Linked DNA regions of Homo sapiens: all the other regions are linked to region 2. The links are contacts of gene promoters, found by promoter capture Hi-C in blood cells and fetal thymus (Javierre and others, 2016). All regions are on one chromosome and are shown on one strand. The core of a region is centred on a gene start or on the middle of the fragment in contact, and the rest is flanking DNA. Distances in the headings are between cores, read along the strand shown. Region 1 has its middle 9.3 kb from the start of ZNF713. Region 2 holds the start of SEC61G (SEC61 translocon subunit gamma). Region 3 overlaps ZNF713 (zinc finger protein 713). Region 4 overlaps ZNF713 (zinc finger protein 713). Region 5 overlaps NIPSNAP2 (nipsnap homolog 2). Region 6 has its middle 7.0 kb from the start of MRPS17.

Evidence for each region. The method cuts DNA at HindIII sites, captures the fragments that hold promoters and counts their contacts. A CHiCAGO score of 5 or more calls a contact.
Region 1: a contact is called between a fragment that was not itself captured here and the fragment with the promoter of SEC61G in region 2, in 10 of 17 cell types (total CD4 T cells, total B cells, naive CD8 T cells and 7 more). The highest score is 10.3, in total CD4 T cells.
Region 3: a fragment that was not itself captured here is called in contact with the fragment with the promoter of SEC61G in region 2 in 4 of 17 cell types (total CD8 T cells, total B cells, total CD4 T cells and 1 more); the score reaches 7.2 in total CD8 T cells.
Region 4: a contact is called between a fragment that was not itself captured here and the fragment with the promoter of SEC61G in region 2, in 3 of 17 cell types (naive CD8 T cells, total B cells and activated CD4 T cells). The highest score is 6.3, in naive CD8 T cells.
Region 5: a contact is called between a fragment that was not itself captured here and the fragment with the promoter of SEC61G in region 2, in 1 of 17 cell types (naive CD8 T cells). The highest score is 6.7, in naive CD8 T cells.
Region 6: a contact is called between a fragment that was not itself captured here and the fragment with the promoter of SEC61G in region 2, in 4 of 17 cell types (naive CD8 T cells, total CD4 T cells, activated CD4 T cells and 1 more). The highest score is 8.5, in naive CD8 T cells.

Annotation. Positions count from the first base shown.
Region 1 is chr7:55,875,984-55,880,250 of GRCh38, reverse strand. It overlaps the pseudogene LOC101409255. Among named protein-coding and RNA genes, the nearest start is that of ZNF713, 9.3 kb to the left of the region's middle. The HindIII fragment of the contact is 3,632 bases long and covers 1-3,132 here.
Region 2 is chr7:54,757,642-54,762,185 of GRCh38, reverse strand. It overlaps SEC61G (SEC61 translocon subunit gamma), which reads left to right and starts at 2,975. Exons shown (of 4, transcript NM_014302.4): 1 at 2,975-3,028. It overlaps SEC61G-DT (SEC61G divergent transcript), which reads right to left and starts at 2,873. Exons shown (of 3, transcript NR_110040.1): 1 at 2,662-2,873. RefSeq lists an enhancer at 1,837-2,772 and a silencer at 3,006-3,325. The HindIII fragment of the contact is 2,422 bases long and covers 2,565-4,544 here.
Region 3 is chr7:55,897,396-55,901,601 of GRCh38, reverse strand. All of the region lies in intron 1 of ZNF713 (zinc finger protein 713), which reads right to left. Among named protein-coding and RNA genes, the nearest start is that of ZNF713, 12 kb to the right of the region's middle. The HindIII fragment of the contact is 2,510 bases long and covers 846-3,355 here.
Region 4 is chr7:55,914,689-55,919,053 of GRCh38, reverse strand. All of the region lies in intron 4 of ZNF713 (zinc finger protein 713), which reads right to left. Among named protein-coding and RNA genes, the nearest start is that of ZNF713, 29 kb to the right of the region's middle. The HindIII fragment of the contact is 178 bases long and covers 2,525-2,702 here.
Region 5 is chr7:55,989,918-55,994,106 of GRCh38, reverse strand. The region is part of intron 7 of NIPSNAP2 (nipsnap homolog 2); the gene reads right to left. Among named protein-coding and RNA genes, the nearest start is that of NIPSNAP2, 27 kb to the right of the region's middle. RefSeq lists a silencer at 1,384-1,584. The HindIII fragment of the contact is 5,635 bases long and covers 122-4,189 here.
Region 6 is chr7:55,942,706-55,947,038 of GRCh38, reverse strand. No RefSeq gene overlaps it. Among named protein-coding and RNA genes, the nearest start is that of MRPS17, 7.0 kb to the left of the region's middle. The HindIII fragment of the contact is 2,713 bases long and covers 1,642-4,333 here.

The DNA of each region.
Region 1 (4,267 bases), core at 67-2,566, 1.1 Mb before region 2:
GAAACTCTGTCTCAAAAAAAAAAGCCAGGCGCGGTGGCTCACACCTGTAATCCCAGCACTTTGGGAGGCCGAGGCAGGCGGATCACAAGGTCAGGAGATCGAGACCATCCTGGTTAACACGGTGAAACCCCATCTCTACTAAAAACACAAAAAATTAGGCGGGCGTGGTGGTGGGCACCTGTAGTCCCAGCTACTCGGGAGGCTGAGGCAGGAGGATTGCTTGAACCCGGGAGGCAGAGGTTGCGGTGAGGTGACATCGCGCCACTGCACTCCAGCCTGGGCAACAAGAGTGAAACTCTGTCTCAAAAAAAAAAGCCAGGCGCAGTGGCTCACACCTGTAATCCCAGCACTTTGGGAGGCCGAGGCAGGCGGATCACGAGGTCAGGAGATCGAGACCATCCTGGTTAACACGGTGAAACCCCATCTCTACTAAAAACACAAAAAATTAGCCGGGCGTGGTGGTGGGCACCTGTAGTCCCAGCTACTCGGGAGGTTGAGGCAGGAGAATAGTGTGAACCCAGTCGGCAGAGGTTGCAGTGAGCTGAGATCGTGCCACTGCACTCCAGCCTGGGCGACAGTGCAAGACTCCGTGTCAAAAAAAAAAAAGAGGCTTTCCATGATTTTTATTAAACTAGAGAGCCTCATCTGGCTGCTCTAGGGTTCCTCATATGCAAAACAGAAATAAGAGGATTCCCCTGACTGGCCCCCATGTTGTTAAGTGTTCTCCCCACCCCCACCCTACGCCCAGCTTCTTAATGAAGCAGGCCTCCATCCTCCTAACCTGAGAGGATGTGAATCATTCCACAGATGTCTGTCTTCTAGCACCACCCACCCCTCATATTTCCTCTACATACCAGTTCTTCAGCTGCGTTCTAGGAACACCATATACTACTGAGTTGCAAATCTATGCTAAGCATATAAGACAATGACTGACAGGAAAAAAATTTTTAATTACAAACTCAATTCATTCGGTGTATTTCAAAGGTGCAATACTTTTCTTCATTTATTAGTGAAAGAAGTTAGAAATTAACTTCCCCAAAAAATCAGCAAGTGGCAAACAAATGTCCTTGAAAGTCAGTCACATACAGTGCGTCCTAGAAAAGAGGAGGGGCAAGACAGGCTCCACCCACTTTCATGAGTTTCATCAAATACTGGATCTACTCTAGGGTGGAGAGAAAAGGCAACTTTCAAAAAGGAGTATGTTATTAAATGAGGCATTTACTATACTCCTTCCTAGGAGCGCCAGATGGGGAACATGTTTTCTCAACTAGATCTAGGAAGTGGAATGTGGAATCAATCCATCCTCCTCCGCTTAAGGGCTAACCACTGGTTAATGAATTAAAAAAACAAGACTGAGAAACAAACCCCACACACACTCCCCCCAAAAGAGGAGAAAAAAACCAACAACACTAAGATGTGCCAGATTACTCTCCAGAGTGGAACCAGGGAGCGGCTTCAACAATTGCAATTAGTTTGTTACAGAGTCATCCACAAGCATGCCTTGCTGTTTTTTTAAATTTGAAACAGTCTTGCTCTGTCACCTAGGCTGGAGTGCAATGGTGCAATCTCGGCTCACTGCAACCTCCACCTCCAGGGTTCAAGTGATTCTCCTGCCTCAGTCTCCCGAGTAGCGGGACTATAGGTGCCCGCCACCAAGCCCAGCTAATTTTTTGTATTTTTAGCAGAGACGGGGTTTCACCGTGTTAGCCAGAATGGTCTCAACCTCCTGACTTCATGATCTGCCCGCCTCAGCTTCCCAAACTGCTGGGATTACAGGTGTGAGCCACTGCGCCCGGCCCATGCCTTGCTTTTAAACAATAACAAAAAAATTTTTTGAAACAAAACAAAAACTAGTACTAATCACTTTTCTGACAATACACTATTACTCAAAATTAACTAGTCCTGGGAGGGGGAAGGGGGGCCATACCTATGGGCCTGTCTCACATGAGTGCATTTGCGTAGGTGCAGGGCATTTGTCATTATTGCAAAAATGAATTTTAATTTTTAATCTTCAGTTTGATTTAAACATTGCTTTTAGTGTGATGCTGACACCAGCTATGCAGAAAGGGCTCTGGAGAGATGTTCATAGCAGCACACACCTGTGGCTCTTCTTCGATTCTGGAGGCTCCAGCGCAGCCAATGTTGCTTCGTCAAATACATTCTTTAGGCCTTTCTGTGTGAGTGCAGAACACTCCACATACTTGACAATCTTCAGGTCATGGGCCAGCTTTTCAGCAGTCTCTGGAGTGATAGGCTTCTGTTTGTTCTTGGAAAGTTTCTCAATAGTAGAGGGATCATCTCTTGAGATCAGTTTGGGTCCCAGCAAGCAAGATTACACACATGAAAAATAAACACATGTTCTCTACAATGATTTTGTTATTTATGTTGTGAAAAGTTCAGAATAACCATATTACTTTTGGGTCCAAATTGTACTAATATCAGAACGTTGAAAATAAAAATGTACCTTTCTGGGTTCTCGTATTCAGGGAAGAACTGTTCTGCTGCAGGACTGTAATAGAAAAATTAAAATGATTTTTATAAAAACTAATATCTAGATGAACCATAACGAGTTTAGTTTCTTACTTTGAAACTTTGTGTGTTATTTAAAATGGGGACAATCTTTAATAAAATTAACTTTTTCACCTCGGCTTCCCAAAATGCTGGGATGACAGGTTTGAACCACTGCAACCGGCCTGTTTGCCTTTTGAGGAATGGCCACACTGTTTTTCAGAGCAGCCGCAACCCCCGCCAGCAATGTATGTGTTCCAGTTTCACCACCTTGCCACAACTTATATTCTGTTTTTGGTTTTTCAGTAGCCATCCTAGTAAGTACAAAGTTGTGGTTTTGACTTGAGTTTCCTAATAATATTGAATATCTTTGCATCTTATTTCCCGTTTGTATATTTTCTTTGGAAAAATGTCTGTTCAAGTCCTTCATCCATTTTAGTTATTTTTCCTTTTTGCTGTTGAGTTGTAGGAGTTATTTATACATTTTGGATATCATACCTTTATTGCATATACAATTTGAAAATATTTTCACCCATTCTGTAAGTTGCCTTTTCACCTTCTTGATATTGTCCTTTGATATGCCACTGCCACATAGTTTTGATTACTGTAGCTTTGTAGAAAGCTTTAAAATTAGGGAGTGCTGCCAACGCCCTCGTGGAGAAGCTGAGGTCAACATCAGATTTGAAATATTTAAAGTGGATACAAAACTATTTCAGCAATGCAGACAATTAGTGTGTTGTTGTGGGCGATGGTGCTGTTGGTAAAACATGTCTCCAGATATCCTACACAACAAACAAATTTCCATCGGAATATGTTCCGACTGTTTTTGACAATTATGCAGTCACAGTTATGATTGGTGGAGAACCATATACTCTTGGGCTTTTTGATACTGCAGGGCAGGAGGATTATGACAGATTACTACCACTGAGTTATCCACAGACAGATGTATTTCTAGTCTGTTTTTCAGTGGTCTCTCCATCTTCATTTGAAAATGTGAAAGAAAAACCTGAGAGGTTAAGGCAGGAGAATTGCTTGAACCCAGGAGGTGGAGGTTGCAGTGAGCAGAGATTGTGCCACTGCACTCCAGCCTGGGCAAAAAGAGTGAAACTCCATCTCAAAAAAAAAAGAAAAAAAAGAAACCGATTACAAAAAGCACTGTTGGGTTTCTGAGAAGTAATTTGTTAGGCAACTTTTGCTTTATCTTTGTGTGACATTATTTTTAAAATCAACATTTAATGAGCTTTTACCAGCATTTAAATCCAGAAAGTTTCTTCAGGCCCCTTTCAAGTCAGCCTTCTCATCTTAATGGCAAACGGTGTTCAAATTCCTCTTGCCGTGGAATAGCTTTGCCTTTTCTGAAGTTTCACATGAATGAAATCAAATAGTACAGACAATTTTGTGTCTGGCTTTTTCTACTCAGTATCTTGACTTTCAGATTCATCCACTTTGTTTCATATATAAGTAACTCCTTCTCCATTGCTGACTAGTATTCTTTGAATAAATACACTACAGATTGTTTATCACCCTCTTCTTGGACATGTTGTTTATAGTTTTAGGCTATTTTGATAAAGGTGCTATTAACATTCTTATATAAGTCTTTTTGTAGACATATGCTTTCATTTACATTAAATGGATGGCTAGGAATATAATTTCTGGGTTATACAGTAATTGCATGTTAATTACAAGTACTAAACAGAGGCCAGATGTAGTGGCTCATGCCTGTAATTTCAGCACTATGGGAGGCCAAGGCAGGAGGATT
Region 2 (4,544 bases), core at 1,726-4,225:
ATTCAATGAACATCTTACACCACAACTAAGTCTACATTTAACATTTTGTTGTATTTGCATTATCACCAGTTTATTCCTCTAACCATGAACCTGCCCTTTTTAAAATCAAAATAAGTTGTAGATACCTGTACATTTCCCTCCTAAATGCATCGACAATTGTATAATTAACTAGAGCTCAATACTTGTTGAGGTTTTTTTTTTTTTTTTTTTTTTTTGAGGAAAAAGGCACAGACCTGCTGCTATGGATGGAATGTTTGTGCGCCTCCAAATTCATATGTGGAAGCCCAAATGTGATGGCATTTGGATGAGGGGCTTCTGGGAGGTAATTAGGTCAGGAGGCTGAAGCCCCATGTTGGGATTAGTGTTCTTACGACCAGGAGGAGAGCTGGTCCTTTCTTTCTCTCTTCCTCCATCTCCCGCAATGTGAGAATGCAATGAGAAAGTAGCTATCTATAAACCAGTAAAAGCCTTCACAAGAACCTGACCATTATCTCTGACTTCCAGTCTCCAGAACTGTGAGAAATAAATGTTTGTTGTGTAAGCCACCACTCTATGATACTCTGTTATAGCTGCCCACGTTGACTAAGACCCCTGTGAAACCCTAAGACCTGTTAAATTACAGAGCATTACATTCACTCCCCAGTTCCCTCACCCGCCTTCTCAATATGTAGCCCCGGGCAAACACTGTTCTGATTTTTTCCACCATTCATTATTTTTGCTTTGTCTAAAATTTCTTGCAAATGGAACTGCACACTGTGCCTTCTTTAGCGTAGGCTTGTTTCACTCACCATGTTTGTCATTCATCAATGTTGTGGCAGAGAGTTTTCTTTCCTTAGCTATGGAGTACTATTCTGTTGTGGGACTATACCTGTATGTTTATTCATTCTATTGATGGTACCCTGTTGCTTTTAGTTCTGTTATCAATAAAGTTACTACGAACATTCCTGTACAAGTCTTTCTGTGAATTTAGTTTCATATATCTTCAATAAGTACCTGGAATTGGAATTGTGGAGCCATAGGTGGTGTATATATGCTTCATATTATGATAAACTACTAAACTTTTCCCAAAAGGGTTATGCCATTTTACACTCCTAGTAACCAGGAATTAGAGTTCTAGAGTTCTGATTGTTACGTATTTTTGCACAGATTTGCTGTTATCAGCCTGTTTTTTTTTTTTTTTTTTTTTACAGACGGAGTCTTGCTCTGTTGCCCAGGCTGGAGTGCAGTCGTGTGACCTCAGCTCACTGCAACCTCCACCTCCCGGGTTCAAGGGATTCTCTTGCCTCAGCCTCCTGAGTAGCTAGGGTTACAGGCATGCGACACCATTCCAGACTAATTTTTGTATTTTTAGTGGAGACGGGGTTTCTCCACGTTGGTCTGGCTGGTCTCAAACTCCCGAAATCAGGTGAGTAGACAATTATAACAATACACTGTAATGAAAGTTATTTGAATGTGGCCTCTCCCAGATTACCTTCTGGTACACATCTCTTTTTGAACCAGATTTTCTTGGATAAGGGGAACCACTGTATGTGTTACTTGATTTTCTGTGTTTTGCTGAAAATACTGTCAACTCAGACATTTGGTGGTTGGGGTGAACTTGCCAACATGTGATTTTATGTTTTTTTGGAATGAATTATTTTTTTGAAAATTATTTATTGAGCATTTACTGTGTTTAGCACTTTACTAGATGCTATATTATACCCACTTGGAGCTTATGGTCTAGTAAGGGGATTTACAGTGTAGGGAGACAGACCGAGGAATAAATAAATAAATGTTAATACAAATGCTATGCAGCAAATGAAGAAGGTATTGTGAAAAAGGAAAAAAGAGCATGAGATAGACAGGATTGCCTTAGATGGTCACTATAGGCCTCTAAGGAGATGACACATGGGCTGAAGTCCCAGGGATGAAGAACTAGTCAAACGCATCTCAGTCTGTTCAGAATTTAAAAGTGACTCTTAAAGCTAAGGCAAGGTATGTGTAGTGTGTATGGACCACCTACAGTCAGATATACGGAGGTGTGTGACCTCTAACCCTGACCCACTGAATCAATATCTGGAGGTTCTGGGGTTACAAATTTCATTTACTAAAAAACTTAACAGGAGATTTCAGTTACTGAAGAAGTTTAAGAAGCACTGAGAGTTGTAACACGTCTTAATGTTCCATCAGCTCTTCCTGAGTTATATTGTTCCTCAGATCCCGTTATGCTCCATTGCTAAAAGGAAACATGGCCGGGCGCGGTGGCTCACGTCTGTAATCCCAGCACTTTGGGAGGCCGAGGCGGGTGGATCGCGAGGTCAGGAGTTCAAGACCAGCCTGGCCAATATGGTGAAACCCCGTCTCTACTGACGGTTTCAGCCATCCGGCGGGGGGTTCCTGGAATGCATCCTTGTGGGTAAGTGGGGAGCTGTGTGTACATTATGACCACTCCCGTAACCAAACCTAGCGTTTGACAAAGGCCTCAATTACAGCGGCATTCATTACCGTGAATGACAGCCAAAGTCAAAGTTTGGGGTGGGGATACTATTTTGAATTAGGCCATAACATTATATTGCTCATAAGCTTCATTTCGACCAACATTATATACATACAAAAAGTATGTACCGTAAGGACACACATCAAGCTGGACCGCAGGAAAAAAAACCACAACTTAGGATTTACCTAGTCAGCCGCTACTAGAGAGCAAGCACCGCGCAAGGCCGCTGGGGCTCGTGCTGTGGACGTGAGTGGGTTGAGGTCGGGCTGGTGGGGTAACCCGGGATCCAGCCGGAAAAAAGGGATAACGCTAGACTCACACTCCTAAGGAAGGCCAACGCCCCAACTAGCGAGCTCCGCAATGCATCTCTTCCAGGAAGCGTGGCCGGGCGCACGTCGCGCTGCGCTTGCGCACTGAGGTTTCGCGTAAGGAACCAATAGGACGGAGGAGTGGGCGGGCTGTTGGCAGAAACCCGGATTCCGGTTCCGGTGGGCCTCCATCAGCAAGCTCCAGTGCTACGTGTCCCTGGCATTTTAGGTGTCGGTTGGGTAGGTGAGTTTCTTCCCACCGGTCGGTACGGGCGAACGGGGCGGCCACACCTTTGCGACTCTTGGGGGCAGCGGGCGTGGGCGAGCCGGCGTGTCTCCCCGGGCGGCCGTCGCGGGGCGGGCGGTAAGTGGTCCCCTGGCTCAGGGCCGGGGTCTGGCCGCCGACATCCCACCAACTCGGCCTCTGGCGGAAGGCAGACCCAGGGCCGCGGACTCCCGGCGAGCTGGGTGGCCGGCCCGCGGGGCTCCAGGGCTTAGCGTCCTGCCCCGGCGTCTTCTGTGCTGCAGCCAAAGATGATGTCCTGCTGCCCGATCCCTTCGGGGTTGGCTCTGTGTGCTGTTGTGGAGTCCTGTCTGGGAAGAGCTGTACTCAGCTCTGGTCCTGCCGCCGCTTCCGTGGTTTAAAGTGAGAGCATTGGTCTAGAGTCTAGTTCGAGAGATCATAGTTGGTTTTTGGATCTCTACCCCTGACATTGAGTGCGGTATTGTGTGTAGCGTGCGTTTTTCTGGATAAAGAATTCTTAGCTTCCTTCGTGACAACTATGATTACAAAAAGTTTAAGCCCTTTGGATTTCAAGAGCAAAGTTGAGTGAAATACTGAGAAAACAGACATTACTGTGTTTTTGCCCCCAGAACGTTGCAGAATTCCTGGTGTTTCATTGACATTATTTCATTTCGTTGTCCACACCCTACACTAAGGAAGGCAACTGGGGCTTACAGAGGTTTACATTCCATAGCCAGTGATTTGAACTACCACCTGGCCACTGTTCTGAGTACTGGAAATGGAGGAAAATACAAATAACACCCTGGCTGCTTTACTTACTATAGCAGTGGCTCTCAAAGCTAAGATCGGATAACATTTCTATTGGGTAATAGATTCCTCAAAAGAACCTGTATGGTAAAATATATAGCCCTGTTTCCTTAAAAGATGTGTTCAAATCGAAAAGTTTGAAATTTAGCTAGTAGCTTCTCAGAATTTGCGTCTTCCTTTAGCCATTCTTTATACTTTAGAAAAGTATGTTGTATTGGCACGTTTTAGAAAAATCAAGGTTGAAATTCACGTTTGCCTCTATTCTAGGCTCTTGCAGCACCGTAGTTGGCATTCACTGTACAAGACACTGGCTTCTGCGTAGTTTAAAATAAAATATGGAAAGTAATTGTTGGATCTCAACACTGATGGTTCCTTAGGAGCGGTGAGGGGACTGTAGAATGAGAAATGGATGGGACTGCAGAGTGAGAAAAGGAATGGATGTGTTACCAATTGCGTAACCTTTTTTAACCTTTTAATAGAGATAGGCTTTTTATATTGCGTGTGCTGTTCTTTGTCAGTGAAGATATCATGAGTAAGATCTGTGCTTTTCTTATTGCCTTTGATAATTAACTGAAATTTCCAAAAATAATATCAATTTAGGCTTTGGAGTTTGTTTTTTGTTTTATTTTAGGAGGTGGAATTGACCCATGTTAGACGTGAATTCAGTGGCTGGTCTCATTTACATCTTTATATAAATGAGCAAGTGCTT
Region 3 (4,206 bases), core at 851-3,350, 1.1 Mb before region 2:
TTTAGTGTTTCTATGGAGGTTGCATTATACAGTCAAGATTGATTAAACTACTAGACACTGGTAACTTAAAAATTTGTTTAAATTTCTAATTGACAAATAATTATATATATTTATAGAGTACAATGTGATGCATTAATATATATTTACATAGTTGATGTGGTTTGGCTGTGTCTCCACCCCATATCTCATCTTGAATTCCCACATGTTGTGGGAGGGACCCAGTGGGAGGTAACTGAATCATGGGGGCAGGTCTCTTCCATGCTGTTCTCATGATAGTGAATAAGTCTCATGAGAACTGATGGCTTTATAAGCTAGAGTTTCTCTGCATAAGCTCTCTCTCTCTCTCTCACTGCCTGCTGCCATCCATGTAAGATGTGACTTGCTCCTCCTTGCCTTCCACCATGATTGTGAGTCCTCCCCAGCCACTCAGAACTGTAAATCCATTAAACCTCTTTCTTTTGTAAATTGCCCAGTCTTGGGTATGTCTTTATCAGCAGCGTGAAAACAGACTAATACACATTGTGGAATAGCCAATTATCATATCTGTCACCTCACATACTTTTAAATTATTTGTGGTGAAAACATTTAAAATCTACTCTTTTAGTAATTTTGAAATATACAATGCATTATCAGCAAGACGCAGTGGCTCATGCCTGTAATCCCAGCACTTTGGGAGGCCAAGGTGGGTGGATCACTTGAGGTCAGGAGTTCGAGACCAGCCTGGGCAACATGTTGAAACCCCATCTCTAAAAGAAAAAAAGAAAGAGACAGAGAGACAGAAAGAAAACAATGCATTGTTATTTTATTATTTTAGTCATCATTCTGTGTAATAGATCACTAAAGCTTACCCCTCCTGTCTCACTAAAACTTTGTACCCTTTGGTCAACATCTCTTTAGCCCCCTCCCACACAGCCCCAGATTCTAGTAACAACCATTCTACTCTCTACAAGTTCAACATTTTTAGAGTCCACGTTTTAAGTGAGATCATAGAGTTTCTGTTTTTCTGTGCTTGGCTTATTTCACTTAATACAATGTCCTCCAGGTTCATCTATGTTGTCACGAATAATATAATTTCCCTCTTTTTGAAGGCTGAATAGTATTCCATTGTGTATATATACCACATTTTTTTTTTTTGAAATGGAGTCTCGCTCTGTTGCCCAGGCTGGAGTGCAGTGGTGCAATCTCGGCTCACTGCAACTTCCACCTCCCGGGTTCGAGCACTTCTCCTGCCTCAGCCCTCTGAGTAAATGGGATTACAGACACGTGCCGCCATGCCTGGCTAATTTTTGTATTTTTAGTAGAGACAGGGTTTCACCATGTTGGTCAGGCTGATCTCAAACTCCTGACCTCGTGATCCGCCTGCCTCGGCCTCCCAGAAAGTGCTGCGATTACAGGGGTGAGCCACCACGCCCGGCCACCACATTTTTAAAATCCATTCATCCAATGGACATCTAGGTCACTTCCATATCTTGACTACAGTGAATAATGTTGCAATAAACATAGGAGTACAGATATCGCTTTGGCATACCCATTTCAATTCCTTTGAATATATACTCAGGTCCTGGTGTGGTGGCTCACACCTGTAATCCCTGCACTTTGGGAGGCTGAGGTGGGTGGATCATCTGAGATCAGGAGATCAAGACCAGCCTGGCCAACATGGTGAAGCCCTGTCTCTATTATACATACAAAAATTGGCCGGGTGTGGTGTGGGGCATGTCTGCAATTCCAGCTGCTCAAGAGGCTGAGGCACAAGAATCACTTGAACCTGGGAGACAGAGGTTGCAGTGAGCTGAGATCGTGCCACTGCACTCCAGCCTGGCTGATGGAATGAGACTCTGTCTCAAAACAAACAAACAAAAAAAGAATATATACTCAGAAGTGGGACTGCTGGATCATATGGTAGTTCGATTTTTTTATTTTTTATTTTTTTGAGATGGAGTCTCGCTCTGTTGCCCAGGCTGGAGTGCAGTGGTGCCATCTCAGCTCACTGCAACCTCTGCCTCCTGGGTTCAAGCATTTCTCCATCTCAGCCTCCTGAGTAGCTGGGATTACAGGTGCCTGCCACCACACCCGGCAAATTTTTTTGTATTTTTAGTAGAGATGGGGTCTCGCCATCTTGGCCAGGCTGGTCTTGAACTCCTGACCTTGTGATCAACCCCCCCCCCCCCCTCGGCCTCCCAAAGTGCTGGGATTACAGGCATAAACCACCGTGCCTGGCTTGATTTTTTTTTTTTTTTTTTTTTTTGAGATGGAATCTCGCTCTGTCACCTAGGCTGGATGGAGTACAGTGGCACGATCTCGGCTCACTGCAAGCTCCACCTCCCGGGTTCACGCCATTCTCCTGCCTCAGCCTCCCAAGTAGCTGGGACTACAGGTGCCCGCCACCATGCCCAGCTAATTTTTTGTAGTTTTAGTAGAGACGGGGTTTCACCGTATTAGCCAGGATGGTCTCCATCTCCTGACCCTGTGATCTGCCCGCCTCGGCCTCCCAAAGTGCTGGGATTACAGGCATGAACCACCGTGCCTGGCCGATTTTTTGTTTTTTGAGGAACTCCTGTAGTTTGCTGTGATGGCTGTATTAATTTACATTCCCACAAACAGTGCATAAGCGTTCCCTTTTCTCCACACTCTCACCAATACTTGTTATCTTTTGTCTTTTTGATAATAAGCCATTCTAACAGGGGTGAGTGCTCTCTTATTGTGGTTTTAATCTGCATATCCATCAAGATCAGTGATAAGCATTTTTTCATTATCTCTGATGGCCATTTGTATGTTGTCTTTTTTTTTAGAGGTAAATGGGAAATTTTGAATTTAATTTTTTGTGAATGAGAATGTCTATTCAGGACATTTGTCCATCTTAAAATTGGGTTACTTGTTTTCTCGCTACTGAGTTCCTTATATATTTTGGATATTAGTCCTTGATATGGTTTGGATTTGTGTCCCTACTGAAATTTCATGTTGAATTGGAAGGTGATTGGATCACAGGGTGGATTTCCCTCTTGCTGTTCTCACGATAATGAGTGAATTCTCACGAGATCTGATGGCTTAAAAGCATGTGGCACTTTGCACTCTCTCCTCCTGCCATATGAAGAAGGTCCTTGCTTCCCCTTGGCCTTCTGCCATGCTTGTAAGTTTCCTGAGGCCTCCCAGTCATGCTTCCTGTACAGCCTGTACAGGAATCGTGAGTCAATTAAACCTCTTTTCTTCATAAATTACTCAGTCTCAGGTAGTTCTTCAGTAGCAGTGAGAACAGACTAATACAGTCCCATATCAGATGTATCGTTTGCAAACATTTTCTCCCAATCCTTGGTTTTTCTCTTCATTTATTGATTGTTTCCTTTGCCGTGTAAAAGCTTTTTAGATTGACGCAACCCTATTTGTTTACTTTTGCATTTGTGGTCATATCCAAGAAATTTTTGTCTAGACAAACGTCATGGAACATTTTCCTTTCTGAGTTTTATAGCTTCAGGTCTTCTGTTTAAGTCCTTAATCCATTTTGAGTTGATTGTCCATTGGTGATTAACTCTATCTTCAACCCCTCTCTTCTCCTCAGAGGTGGGGTGGGGTTTGGGGTTGGGGTTTAAAGTTCAACCCTCTAATTACATGGTAGGTTCCTTTAGCCACTAGCCTCCATCCTGAAGCTATGTAGGAACTTGGAGTCACCAGTCATCTCATTGGTTATGAATAGCAAAAGACGCTTCTATCATCCCTATCACTCAGAAAATGACGAGGGTTTTAGGAGCTCTGCGGCAGGAACTGGACATGAAGATCTACTCTATACAATGTCAATATGTCTACTATGTTTATGACGTCAATATGTTCACGATGTCAATATGTCTCATTAATGGTAATATGTCTCATTAATGGCAATATGTTTCATTGACGGTAATATTTACCATTATCACTTGGTCAAGGTGGTGTCTACCAGGTTGCTCTATGGTAAAAGTTACTATCTTTCCTTTTGTTGCTAATAAATATCCTGGGGGAAGATACTTTAAGGCTACCTACAGGACAGATGGACGCAGTGGCTCATGCTTGTATGCTTGTAATCCTAACGCTTTGGGAGGTGGAGGTGGGAGGATGGCTTGAGCCCAGGAGTTTGAGACCAACCTAGGCAACATAGTGAGACCTTCACTATGAAAAAAAAAGAAAAAATTAGCTGGGTGTGGTGGCGAGTGCCTGTAGTCCCAGCTATTCGGGAGGCTG
Region 4 (4,365 bases), core at 1,364-3,863, 1.2 Mb before region 2:
AGTAGATCGTTGAGTTCATTAAATATATTCTCTATTTTCCTTTTTTTTTTTCTTTCTTTTGAGGCAGAATTTCTCTCTGTCACCCAGGCTGGAGTGCAGTGGTGCAATCTGGGCTCACTGCAACCTCCGCCTCCCGGGTTCAGGCGATTCTCCTGTCTCAGCCTCTTGAGTACCTGGGATTACGGGCGCAAACCACCATGCCCTGGCTAATTTTTGTATTTTTAGTAGAGACGAGGTTTCACCGTGTTGGCCAGGCTAGTCTCAAACTCCTGACCTCGAGTGAGGCCTTGGCCTCCCAAAGTGCTGGGATTACAGGCATTAGCCACCATGCCTGGCCTCTATTTTCCTTGTTACTGAAGGTAACAATGTTATCCAACATTTCTTCTTCGAGGGTCCTCTATCCTCCAGCTTCTAATAACATTCTCCTTACTATCCTTTGAGTTTTGACAAAGGCCCTTTAGTTTTCCATTAACTCGCCTTGAGGCCCTTTATTATTTCACTCGTTTTCTATCTTATCCCCAGTGCTCAGTTCCAAAGTCAGTGCCCTGTGGTTTAGGTTTCTGTTTTTGCAACACTCCACTTTCAGGTACTAAAATCCCTAACAATTATCTTGCTGCATAACAAACCATCCCAAAACTTGGGGGATTAAAATAGCAAGTATCATTTACTTTGCTCATAAATCTGCAATTTGGGCAGGACTAGGTGGGAAGGTTTGACTGGGGATTGGAGGATTCACTTTCAAGATGGCTTACTCACAAGGCTGGCAAATTGGTACTGGCTTTCAGCTGGGAGCTCGGCTAGGGCTGTGGGCCTTGGCTCCTCTCCATATGGGCTTCTCCATGGGCTGTCTGGGTTTCCTCCTGACAAGGTGGTCGGGTTTAGAGTAAGCATCCCAACAGAATGAGGTAGAAGTCTTACTGCCATTTATGATCTGCCTTGAAAGTCACAAAGCTTTGCATCCTCCAGTCACAGCCTTGCCGAGATCCAATGGAGAGCACACAGATCTCCACATCTATAATGGGATGAGTGTCAAAGTCACTTGCAAGAAAGCATTTGGGATGGGAGGTATTTTGGCCATTTTTCTGAAAATGCAATCTGTCACATTCACACCAGCAGTGTAAGAGTGTCTGTTTCCCCACAGCTTTGCCAACAGAATATGTTATACTTGTGGAAAATATCAAACTCATGGCAAATATCAAGCTTGGTGATAAAATATCCAGCTTTCTCTAGTTTTAACACAAATTTCCTCTTGTTTGCAGTACAGATGAACACTTTTCCTGTGTTTAAGATCCATTTGAACTTTATTTGCTGTGAACTGTCTTTAAAATTTTTTTTCTTTTTTTTTTTTTGAGACAGGGTCTCACTCTGTCACCCAGGCTGGAGTGCAGTGGTGCAAACATGGCTTACTGCAATCTTCACCTTCTGGGCTCAAGTGATCCTCTGACCTCAGCCTACTGTATAGCTGGGACTACAGGTGCACACCACCACTAGTCCCCCAGCTAATTTTTGTATTTTTGGTAGAGATGAAGTTGCACCAAGTTGGTCACACTTGTCTCAAACTCCTGACCTCAAGTGATCAGCCTGCCTCAGCCTCCCAAAGTGCTGGGATTACAGGCATGAGCCACTGTCCCTGGCCTTTTGTACCTTTTTCTGTTGGACTCCTAATCTCTTGCTGATTTAGAGAAGTATTTTATATATTAGAAAGATGAGACCACTGTAATTCGAGTGGCAAAATATTTTTTTCAACTTGACATGTCTTTTTACTTTGCTTATAGTTTGTTGTTTTTTTTTTTCCATGCAGATGCTTTTGGTGTTTTTTGTTTGTTTGTTTGTTTGTTTTGAGGCAGAGTCTTGCTCTGTCGCCCAGGCTGGAGTGCAGTGGCGCAATCTCGGCTCACTGCAAGCTCCGCCTCCCGGGTTCACGCCATTCTCCTGCCTCAGCCTCCCAAGAAGCTGGGACTACAGGCGCCCACCACTATGCCTGGCTAATTTTTTATATTTTTAGTAGAGACGGGGTTTCACCGTGTTAGCCAGGATGGTCTCAATCTCCTGACCTTGTGATCTGCCCACCTAGGCCTCCCAAAGTGCTGGGATTACAGGTGTGAGCCACTGCGCCCGGCCGCTTTTGGTGTTTTTAATGAGTTGAACCCATCAATCACTGTGATTAGAAAGTTTTTCTTTGGTGAAAGTTATAAAGGAATTCTCCCATTTTTTTCTTGCATAACTTTTTGTGGTTTCATTTTTCATATTTAAATATTTGATCCATTTGAAGACTATTCTGATGTGAAGTATGAGGTACAGATCCAACTTTATCTTTTTCCAGATGGTTTCCCAGAAATCCCAACATCAATTATTGAACAAAGCAGCTTTTTATCACTGGTTTGAGATGTTACCTTTATCATATGCTAAATTCCCCATGTGTTTAATGAATGGTTATTCAGTGCTTCCTATATATATGCCAGGCATGGTGCTTGGGATGTACCAGTGAATAAAAGAGACAAAAACTCCCTGCCTTTATGAAGCTTATATTCTAGGAAAGAAAGTAGACAACAAACAGCATAACTGGGTAAATTATATAGTATGTCAGAAGATAAAAGTAAAGTAGTGTAAGGGTTCAAGAATATGGGTGTGGGGCAGTTACAAATTTAAATAGCGTGGTCAGGAAAGATGGCACTGGAGAGGTGACATTTGAGAAAGAAGCTTGACAGGTTAACAGTGCAAAGGCCCCAGGGCCATGTTTAAGGAAGAAGAATGAGGCCAGGATGGCTAGAATGGAATAAGGGGAAGAAAAGTAAATGATGAAATTCGACAGGTAACAGGCCAGATTCTATAGGACTGTTTAGGCCATCTTAAGGACTTTGGGTTTTACTCTGAGTGAAATGGGAGCCATGCGCTTTGAGCAGAGGAATGACATGATCTGATTTACCATTACCAATAGTGCCATTTCCTGGGTTCCACTCTTTGAAGTCATCTTTTTTCTTCCTTTGCTTTTACCCCTTAGCTAATCTCTGCTGTTTCCAAAGGAAAGCACTCAAATCTCCCTCCTTTCCTCCAATGACTAGTTTTATGCTATTTTCTATCACTGAGAATGCTACAGTAGCTTAACTGGTTTTTCTCCTTTCAACCTCTGCCTCTCACAAATTCAGTTAGTATATAGCACCAGGATGATTTTTAATGTAGAATTGGATTACTTATTATGTTATCTTTCTGCTTAAATTCCCCCAAAGGCTTTCCACTGCACTCAGAGTAAAAGTCAGACCTGTTTTCATGGCCACAGGCTTTGTGTATTTAAGACCTGCTCACTTCTCCAAGCTCACTTCAAGTCATTCTCTCCCTCCTTCCACACCAACCACAGTGGTCTTCTTTTAATTTCTCAAATATACCCGTGATTTTTGCAGATGATTTTTAGCACATGTCCAAAATGCTCTTTTCCACTTACTTTTCGTAGGTTCTACTTATCTTTTCTTTCTCATCTTAAATTTCACTTCCCCACAGTTTCTCCCTGATTCCCTAATGTGTATTCATAGCACCCTGTTTTCATTTTGTTTAAAACACATCTCTTTTGCAATTTATTAGTATAGTTGCTAAATGTCTTTCAATAAGCTCCTTGGGTTTGGGGTCATGTCTATTTTTCTCAGTGATGTCTAGCTGATAAAAAGCATAATTTTTGTCACATATGAAATGACCAGTAGACCATAAGAAGAAAAAAGGAAAAGAAAAAAAACTTGTCACATACTAGCTACTCAAAAAATATTTATTGAGTGAATGAATCATCTTCCTTCTAAACATAATAAATGGTTCCAGAAAATTAAAACTAACTCCTTGGGCTAGAATGTGGAAAAGCAGACATGCCACTTATTTCTAGATGTCTTTCTATTCCTGTCTTTGGGGAGTCTTACAGTTAATTAAGAATAAACCAAATGGGCCAGGTGCGGCGGCTCACGCCTATAATCCCAATACTTTGGGAGGCTGATGGGGGCGGACTAGCCTGGCCAACATGGTGAAACCCCGTCTCTACTAAAAATACAAAAATTAGCTGGGCGTGGTGGCGCATGCCTGTAGTCCCAGCTACTTGGGAGGCTGAGGCAGGAGAATCACTTGAACCCGGGAGGCGGAGGTTGTAGTGAGCCGAGATTGTGCCACTGCACTCCAGCCTGGGTGACACAGTAAGTCTCTGTCTCAAAAAAAATAAAATAAAATAAAATAAACCAAATGAATCTATCCCTTGAAACCCAAAGATCCCAAAGCACTAATATACACCAAATAAAAGCTCAGCTCTAGCTGACAGTCTCCTTATTGTCCCTGCTCTTGCTCAAGTTTTATTTCCTGTCTGCAATGGTCCCCCGTTTTCTCTAATCTCCAAAC
Region 5 (4,189 bases), core at 1,690-4,189, 1.2 Mb before region 2:
AAGCACACCTTCAAAGCAGCTGATGACTCTGAAATCCTGAGAAACACCCCTGCTCTCTGAACTACACAAGGGACTCTGCAACTTCTTGGATGCCATACAGAGGAACCATGGGAATGAAGCTTTCTGGTGGTACAGCCTCAGTAGTGCAGGCAAAGCTGCCTCTTGCTTTTTTTTTTTTTCTTTCCTACTAGAGCAAACCATTCAGAAAATGAGTACCAAAGGCATTCATTATGTACCAAATATGGAAGAAAGTACTAATATACATTGTGCCTCTGTGGACATCACACTATGATCAGTTAAAAATAGGCACTTGGCTTAAAACTTTAAGAATTTCCCACTGCAAAAGGTATCAGCTCTTTAATTTTTTTTGAAACAGTCTTCCTCTGTCTCCCAGGCTGGAGTGCAGCGGCGTGATCTCAGCTTACTGCAATCTCCATCTCCTGGGTTCAAGTTATTCTCGTGTCTCAGCCTCCTGAGTAGTTGGGGTTATGGGCACATGACATCACGCTCGGCTTTTTTTTTTTTTTTTTTAGATGGAGTCTCGCTGTTGCCCAGGCTGGAATGCAATGGTACGATCTTGGCTCACTGCAACCTCCACCTTCTGGGTTCAAGCGATTTTCCTGCCTCAACCTCCCGAGTAGCTGGGATTACAGGCGCCCACCACCACGTCTGGCTAATTTTTTGTATTTTTGGTAGGCATGAGGTTTCGCCATGTTGGCCAGGCTGGTCTCGATCTGCCCCGCTTCGGCCTCCCAAACTGCTGGGATTACAGGCATGAGCCACCAGGCCAGCCTACAGCCCTTTTTTTTTTTTAGACGGAGTCTTACTCTGCCACTCAGGAGTGCAGTGGCGGGATCTCGGCTCACTGCAACCTCTGCCTCCCAGGTTTAAGCTATTCTCCTGCCTCAGCTTCCTGTGTAGCTGGGATTACAGGTGTGCACCACCACGCCTGGCTAATTTTTGTATTTTTAGTAGAGATGGGATTTCACCACATTGGCCAGGCTGGTCTTGAACTCCTGACCTCAAGTGATCTGTCCACCCCAGCCTCCCTAAGTGCTTGGATTACAGGTGTGAGCCACTGCGCCTGGCTCAGAGCCCTTTCCTTTCATACTTGCACCACTTAAAAAAAAAATATTTAGTGATGCATCTGAATTCCTAAAAATGTTTTAAAATGTGCCCATTTTTTCAAAAGCAGTCTTCTAGAATCAAAGGTGAAAAGGAAGGGGCTTCAAATGACATAGGGAGGTCACCAGAAGACACATGGTTAAGGTCTATCAGGAGATGACACACCATGCATTACCCAGTAAATCCATACCACACTGCCCAGGCTCTGGCCTGAAGTCTCAGTCATATCAGGGTCCCACAGGTGACAAGACTTGGGAAGACAGATTCACTCTAATTCATTCAAAAGAGCTGGCAGCATATAAACAAGGATAGCAACCTACTAACAATGACAGTGAAAGATGTCACTCTCAAGGCACAAGATGCTTGAGTTGGCTTGGCTGAGCATTCTCTTCCTGGAGGCAAACTTCATATATACTGAATGATAACATCTCAAAAGGGGGAAAAAAATCCAAGAGTGATTTCCTGTGAGTGACTAAGCCAATCTCCTTTTTTAAGACAGAGACTCACTCTGTCACCCAGGCCGGAGTACAGTGGCATGATCTTAGCTGACTGCAGTCTGGAACTCTTGGGCTCGAGGGAGCCTCCTGCCCCGGCCTCCTGAGTAGCTGGAACTACAGGCTTGCACCACTAAGCACAGCCAATTTTTTATTTTTTATTATGTTTTTGTTGTTGTTGAGATGGGGCCTTGCTATGTTGCTTGGGCTGGTCTCGAACTCCTGGGCTCAAGCAATCCAGTCTCCTTAAAATCACTCTACACCTCTGCTCTAATCCACCATGGGCTCAGTGCCATGATGGGAACCTTACCCAAGCGCTTGGGTTCCTTTATGGTGAAAAAGGGACTTCTTGCTATTGCCCCCATGGATTATCCACAAATAAGATGACATCTTTAATCTTTACATTGAGAATTAAGTGATCAATATCTTCACAGAAATTATAAATCTGATTATTGAAATTAAGCAAATCACTTCAATGTGCATTCTAACTCTATTCAGAAGAAAAAAACCTGGCTTTCATTGATAGTGATAAATATTCCAGATTATTCATTTCATTCTGAATTTTTGTAATTTAGTTATGGTAGGCAAACAAAACATACTTGCCTTAGCCTGGTAACAATCAGAAGCCTGTACAGACGAGGTGGTCACCATCTTAGTTACCTATGTGCCAAAATATAAATTGAATGCTAAACTGGCTTTATAAATTATATATATATATATATTTTTTTTTTTTTTTTTTGAGACAGAGTTTCACTCTTGTTGCCCACGGTGGAGTACAATGGTGCGATCTTGGCTTGCCACAACCTCTGCCTCATGGGTTCAAGTAATTCTCTTGCCTCAGCCTTCCGAGTAGCTGGGATTACAGGCATGCACCACCACACTTGGCTAATTTTTGTTATTTTTAGTACAGACAGGGTTTCTCCATGTTGGTCAGGCTGGTCTCGAACTTCTGACCTCAGGTGATCTGCCCATCTTGGCCTTCCAATGTGCTGGGATTACAGGTGTGAGCCACCGCGCCTGGTCAAATAATTTTTTAAATAACTGAATAACCCCAGTATGTCCCTGTGGATTCCACGGCGAGCGAGTCTTGATCAGTAATGGGCAAAAATTGAACTAGTGAGTAATCCTATTCCGTGAGTAGCTACATGATTAACAACAATAGTCCAAAAACAAAAGAACAAAAATTGTATATAATAGTAGCATACAACCAAATATGTATTTCTTAGTTTTCAAATGAAAAGAAATTCTAACTTCCATTATTTAGCCTTTGATGATCTAAGGAGGAAAGGTTCATTAGAAATAAAGATCACAGAACTATTTGTTGGAGACAGAAGGGATCTTAGAAATTATTTCATGCACAGCAGGAAATTTCATAACCGAAAAAAGAGAAAAACTGGGGCCGAGCGCGGTGGCTCACACCTGTAATCCCAGCACTTTGGGATGCTGAGGCAGGCAGATCACTTGAAGTCAGAAGTTCGAGATCAGCCTGGCCAACATGGCGAAACTCTGTCTCTACTAAAAATACAAAACATATTAGCCAGGTGTGGCGGTGCACGCCTGTAATCCCAACTACTTGGGAGGCTGAGGCAGGCTAATCGCTTGAACCCAGGAGGCAGAGATTGGAGTGAGCCGAGACTGCGCCACTGCACTCCAGCCTGGGCAACAGAGCAAGACTCCGTCTCAAAAAAAAAAAAAAGAAAAAGAAAAAAGAAAAGATATAAGTTGAAGTTAAAAAAAAAGGCAAAAAGGTACAAGTTCTCTTTTCAAGGTGAGAGCTGTCAAGTAACTCAAACCCAGAGCTTTTTCTCAGCACCATGTGGCCTCCCCCTTTGTGGGTAAATAGTTATGAAATGCCAGCTTAGGAAACAGAAATAGCAAGCTGCCAAAGAAAAGTAAGAGTTAACATAATTACTTCAAAGAAATAAACACACACATCTCCCCCTAAAAACAAAAAACAGGCTAGGCACGGTGGCTCATGCCTGTAATCCCAGCACTTCGGGAGGCCGAGGCAGGCGGATCATGAGGTCAGGAGATCGAGGCCATCCTGGCTAACACAGTGAAACCCCGTCTCTACTAAAAAACACACAAAAAATTAGCCGGGTGTGATGGCTGGTGCCTGTAGTCCCAGCTACTCAGGAGGCTGAGGCAGGAGAATGGCGTGAACCTGGGAGGCGGAGCTTGCAGTGAGCCGAGTTCGCACCACTGCACTCCAGCCTGGGCAACAGAGCAAGACTCCGTCTCAAAAAAAAAAAAAAAGAAAAGAAACAAAAATTAAGGTACAGAAATATGTTAAGTTTCAAAGAAAAAAAATGCTATAAATCTTTTGTTGAATTAGATATAGATGTATGCTTCAGATTATTTTAGGAAACTATCCCAATGTTTCAAAATTATATATATATTCTGAGATGGAGTCTCACTCTGTCGCCCAGGCTGGAGTGCAGTAGTGCCATTTTGGCTCACTGCAGCCTCCATCTCCTGAGTAGCTGGGACTACAGGTGCTCGCCACCACACCCAGCTAATTTTTTTTTTTTTTTTTTGGATTTTTAGTAGACAGGGTTTCACCATGTTGG
Region 6 (4,333 bases), core at 1,749-4,248, 1.2 Mb before region 2:
GAACCTGGGAGGTAGAAGTTGCAGTGAGCCGAGATCGTGCCACTGCACTCCAGCCTGGGCGACAGAGTGAGACTCCGTCTAAAAAAAAAATACACTGAACATTAATCAAAATACAAATTCTAATGAGTATTTGTATTAGTCTGTTTTCTCACTGCTATAAATACCCAAGATTGAGTAATTTATAAAGGAAAGAGGTTTGACTCACAGTTACACACGGCTGGGGAGGCCTCGGGAAACTTACAATCATGGCAAAAGGGGAAGCAGGCATGTCTTACATGGCGGCAGGCAAGACAGAGTGTGAGTGAGCGAAGCGGAAGTCCCTTATAAAACCATCAGATCTCAAGAGAACTCACTCACTATCACAAGAACAGCATGGGGGAAATGCCCCAATGATTCAATCACTTCCCATTAGGTTTCTCCCTTGACACATGGGGATTACAATTTGAGATGATATTTGGGTGGGGACACAAAGCCAAATCATATCAGTATTTTTCTCCATGCTAACAAGCTCTTTGGACATAAAAGAACCAATGAACAGGACGATTGTTTACTAATACTTTGAGGTTATGAGAAATAGTCACACAGATTTTGGTGTTGAGCAGCAATCTTTCCTTTTATTAAAATTCATATATTTACCAAATGTTTTCAGAGTGTTATAATAGACTGTTCCAGGCACTGTTTATATCTACTGGATTAGGAGTCAAATGACTGATGTTATAGTGACATTTCAGTCAGAGAAACCCTGAATAATAAGTCATCTACTACTATGTGTAGCTTAAGTATTTCTTCTTATAGAAGGACAACAACACCTGGTTGGATGGACCAAAGAAACTGATACAGTGAAAGGGTAATATATTGCTCTCCTAGATAGAAACAAGTCATAACAAATAAGTACTGGAATGTGTACACCTCTGGCTCCCGTACACTGGGGGTACCAGTATTTTGATGTAATGAACATATTTAGGCTTCACTCCTTAACTTGGAACATTTTGAAGAGAACAAAGGACAACATGAGAATGAATCCGCACCAATTTTACTGTACAATTAACATAAACAGAATCATCTGTGACCCTAAGGAATATATAATAGGATTCTAATGTACCATTCCTATGTATGAAGAATTGGTGAAAGTCCTTGGCCAACTGTGGTCGGGTTCAGTCCAGACACCTTTTTTCTGGGATGTCCAAGTTCTGCTCATCCTCTTCTGAGAATTCCATCTTGTTCTTGTTTTTCACCTGTGCTGTGATACAGATACACTGCCTTGTGCTGGAGCCTTTAGAACTCTTTGCAAAATACTTTTTTTTTCCTGGTTGCAAAAGTAAGCTTTTTTTTTTTTTTTTTTTTTTTTGAGACGGAGTCTCACTCTGTCACCCAAGCTGGAGTGCAGTGGCACAATCTCGGCTCACTGCAACCTCTGCCTCCTGGGTTCAAGCAGTTCTTCTGCCTCAGCCTCCCGAGTAGCTGGGACTACAGGTGCGCACCACCATGCCCGGCTAATTTTTGTATTTTTAGTAGAGACGGAGTTTCACCATATTGGCAAGGCTGGTCTCGAACTCCTCACCTCATGATCTGCCCGCCTCAGCCTCCCAAAGTGCTGGGATTACAGGCATGAGCCACTGCGCCCAGCCACAAAATTAAGCTTTGATCAAAGATTTTACCAAGTGTAATTAACCATTACTTTTAAAAAGTACATACTTGGCTGGGTGCGGTGGCTCACGCCTATAATCCCAGCACTTTGGGAAGCCGAGGGCAGGCAGATCACGAGGTCAGGAGTTTGAGACCAGCCTGGCCAACATAGTGAAACCCCCCCCTCTACTAAAAATACAAAAAATTAGCCGGGCGTGGTGACAGGCGCCTGTAATCCCAGCTAATCAGGAGGCTGAGGCAGGGGAATAGCTTGAACCCAGGAGGCGGAGATTGCAATGAGCCAAGATAGTGCCATTGCATTCCAGCTCAGGCAACAGTGCGAGACTCCGTCTCAAAAAACAAACAAACAAAAAAGTACATACCTCTGCTGAGACGTCACCTTCGCTCACTCTCTCCCCTCCTGAAATCTGAGTGCCCTATATCCTGCCTCATTATGGCAAATGAATGTTAAATGTGGCTTTTTTTGGGTGAGGATGCTTCCAGAATTGATTTGCCCTGAAAATGCATCGCCACTGCACACGTTTGGACAAAATACTATTAGAAATCCTCCCTGATTACAGTAACTCAAGGTTTTATTAACTATTTCATACCTACTGTTGCATGGGACAAAAATGCTTTTGAAAAGTTTAATTTCTACAATGAAATGAGTTTTTTTGGGGGGGTTTTATTGTTTTTGTTTTTTAAAGTCCTTAAATCATTTCAGCTTTGACTCAGGGCCTACAAAATCTAGTCCTTTCTCGGGGAGAATAAATCAGGGAAGTCTTGAGCCAGGCTCAAGTTAGAAGAAAGATGAGAAAGCAAGTGGGCTGCACTCCTACCTTAACCTTATGTTTTCTTCAGCCATGCCTGAGAAGACAGAGGAAACCTGAAAACCAAGAAACTGAAGTGTCCCTATGCTTGCAGCTATTCCTGGTTTATGACCGTTTACATTTTGAATGCTTTAAAACATCAAATGTGGGGCCGGGCACGGTGGCTCACACCTGTAATCTCAACTCTTTGGGAGGCTGAGGCGGGTGGATCACCTGAGGTTAGGTGTTCGAGACCAGCCTGACCAATAGAGTGAAACACTGTCTCTATTATAAATACAAAAATTAGCCAGGCGTGGTGGCGCGCACCTGTAATCCCAGATACTCGGGAGACTGAGACAGGAGAATTGCTTGAACCTGGGAGGCGGAGGTTGCAGTAAGCCAAGATCAAGCCACTGCACCTCAGCCTGGGTGACAGAGCGAGACTCTGTCTCAAAAAAACAAACAAAAAACAGAAAAAAACATCAAATGTGACTTCTGTCAAACAAGGCAGCAATCATAAAAATCAAATGAAATCACCTTAAATTCTGATATATTATACTTTGGATATTTGTCTCTTCCAATCTCAGGTTGAAATGTGATCCCCAATGTTGGAGGTGGGGCCTGGTGGGAGGTGTTTGGGCCATGGGGGTGGATCCCTCATGAATGGCTTGGTGTCCTCCTGTGTTATTGAATGAGTTCTTGTAGGGAAAAGAAAGAGAGATCAGACTGTTACTGTGTCTATGTAGAAAGGGAAGACATAAGAGACTCCATTTTGAAAAAGACCTGTACTTTGAATAATTGCTTTGCTGAGATGTTGTTAATTTGTAGCTTTGCCCCAGCCACTTTGACCCAACCACTTTGATCCAATCTGGAGCTCACAAAAACGTGTTGTATGAAATCAAGGTTTAAGGGATCTAGTGCTGTGCAGGACGTGCTTTGTTAACAAAATGTTTACAAGCAGTATACTTGGTAAAAGTCATTGCCATTCTCTAGTCTCAATAAACCAGGGGTACAATGCACTGCAGAAAGCCACAGGGACCTCTGCCCTTGAAAGCGGGGTATTGTCCAAGGTTTCTCCCCATGTGATAGTCTGAAATACGGCCTCGTGGGATGAGAAAGACCTGACCGTCCCCCAGCCCGACACCCGTAAAGGGTCTGTGCTGAGGTGAATTAGTAAAAGAGGGAGCCTCTTGCAGCTGAGATAGAGGAAGGCCACTGTCTCCTGCCTGCCCCTGGGAACTGAATGTCTCGGTATAAAACCGGATTGTACATTTGTTCAATTCTGAGATAGGAGAAAAACCGCCCGATGGTGGGAGGCGAGACATGTTTGCAGCAATGCTGCCTTGTTATTCTTTACACCACTGTGATGTTTCGGTGGAGAGAAACAAATCTGGCTTACGTGCACGTCCAGTCATAGTACCTTCCCTTGAACTTAATTATGACATAGATTCTATTGCTCACATGTTTTTCTCCTTATTATCACCATGCCCTCCTACATTCCTTTTTGCTGCAATAATGAAGATAATAATCAATAAAAACTGAGGGAACTCAGAGACTAGTGCCGGTGCAGATCCTTGGTATGCTGAGCGCCGGTCCCCTGGACCCACTGTTGTTTCTCTATACTTTGTCTCTGTGTCTTCTTTCCTTTCTCAGTCTCTCATCTCACCTGACTAGAAATACTCACGGGTGTGGAGGGGAAGGCCACCCCTTCAAGTTCTCACTCTGGTAGTTCATGTGAGAGCTGAGTGTTTAAGAGGTTGCAACCTCCCCCATCTCTCTTGACCCCTCTATTGTCATGTAATATGCTGGCTCCCATTGACCTTCCGCCATAATTGGAAGCGTTCTGAGGCCATCAACAGAAGCAGACACCAGCACCGTATTTCCTGCACAGCCTGCAG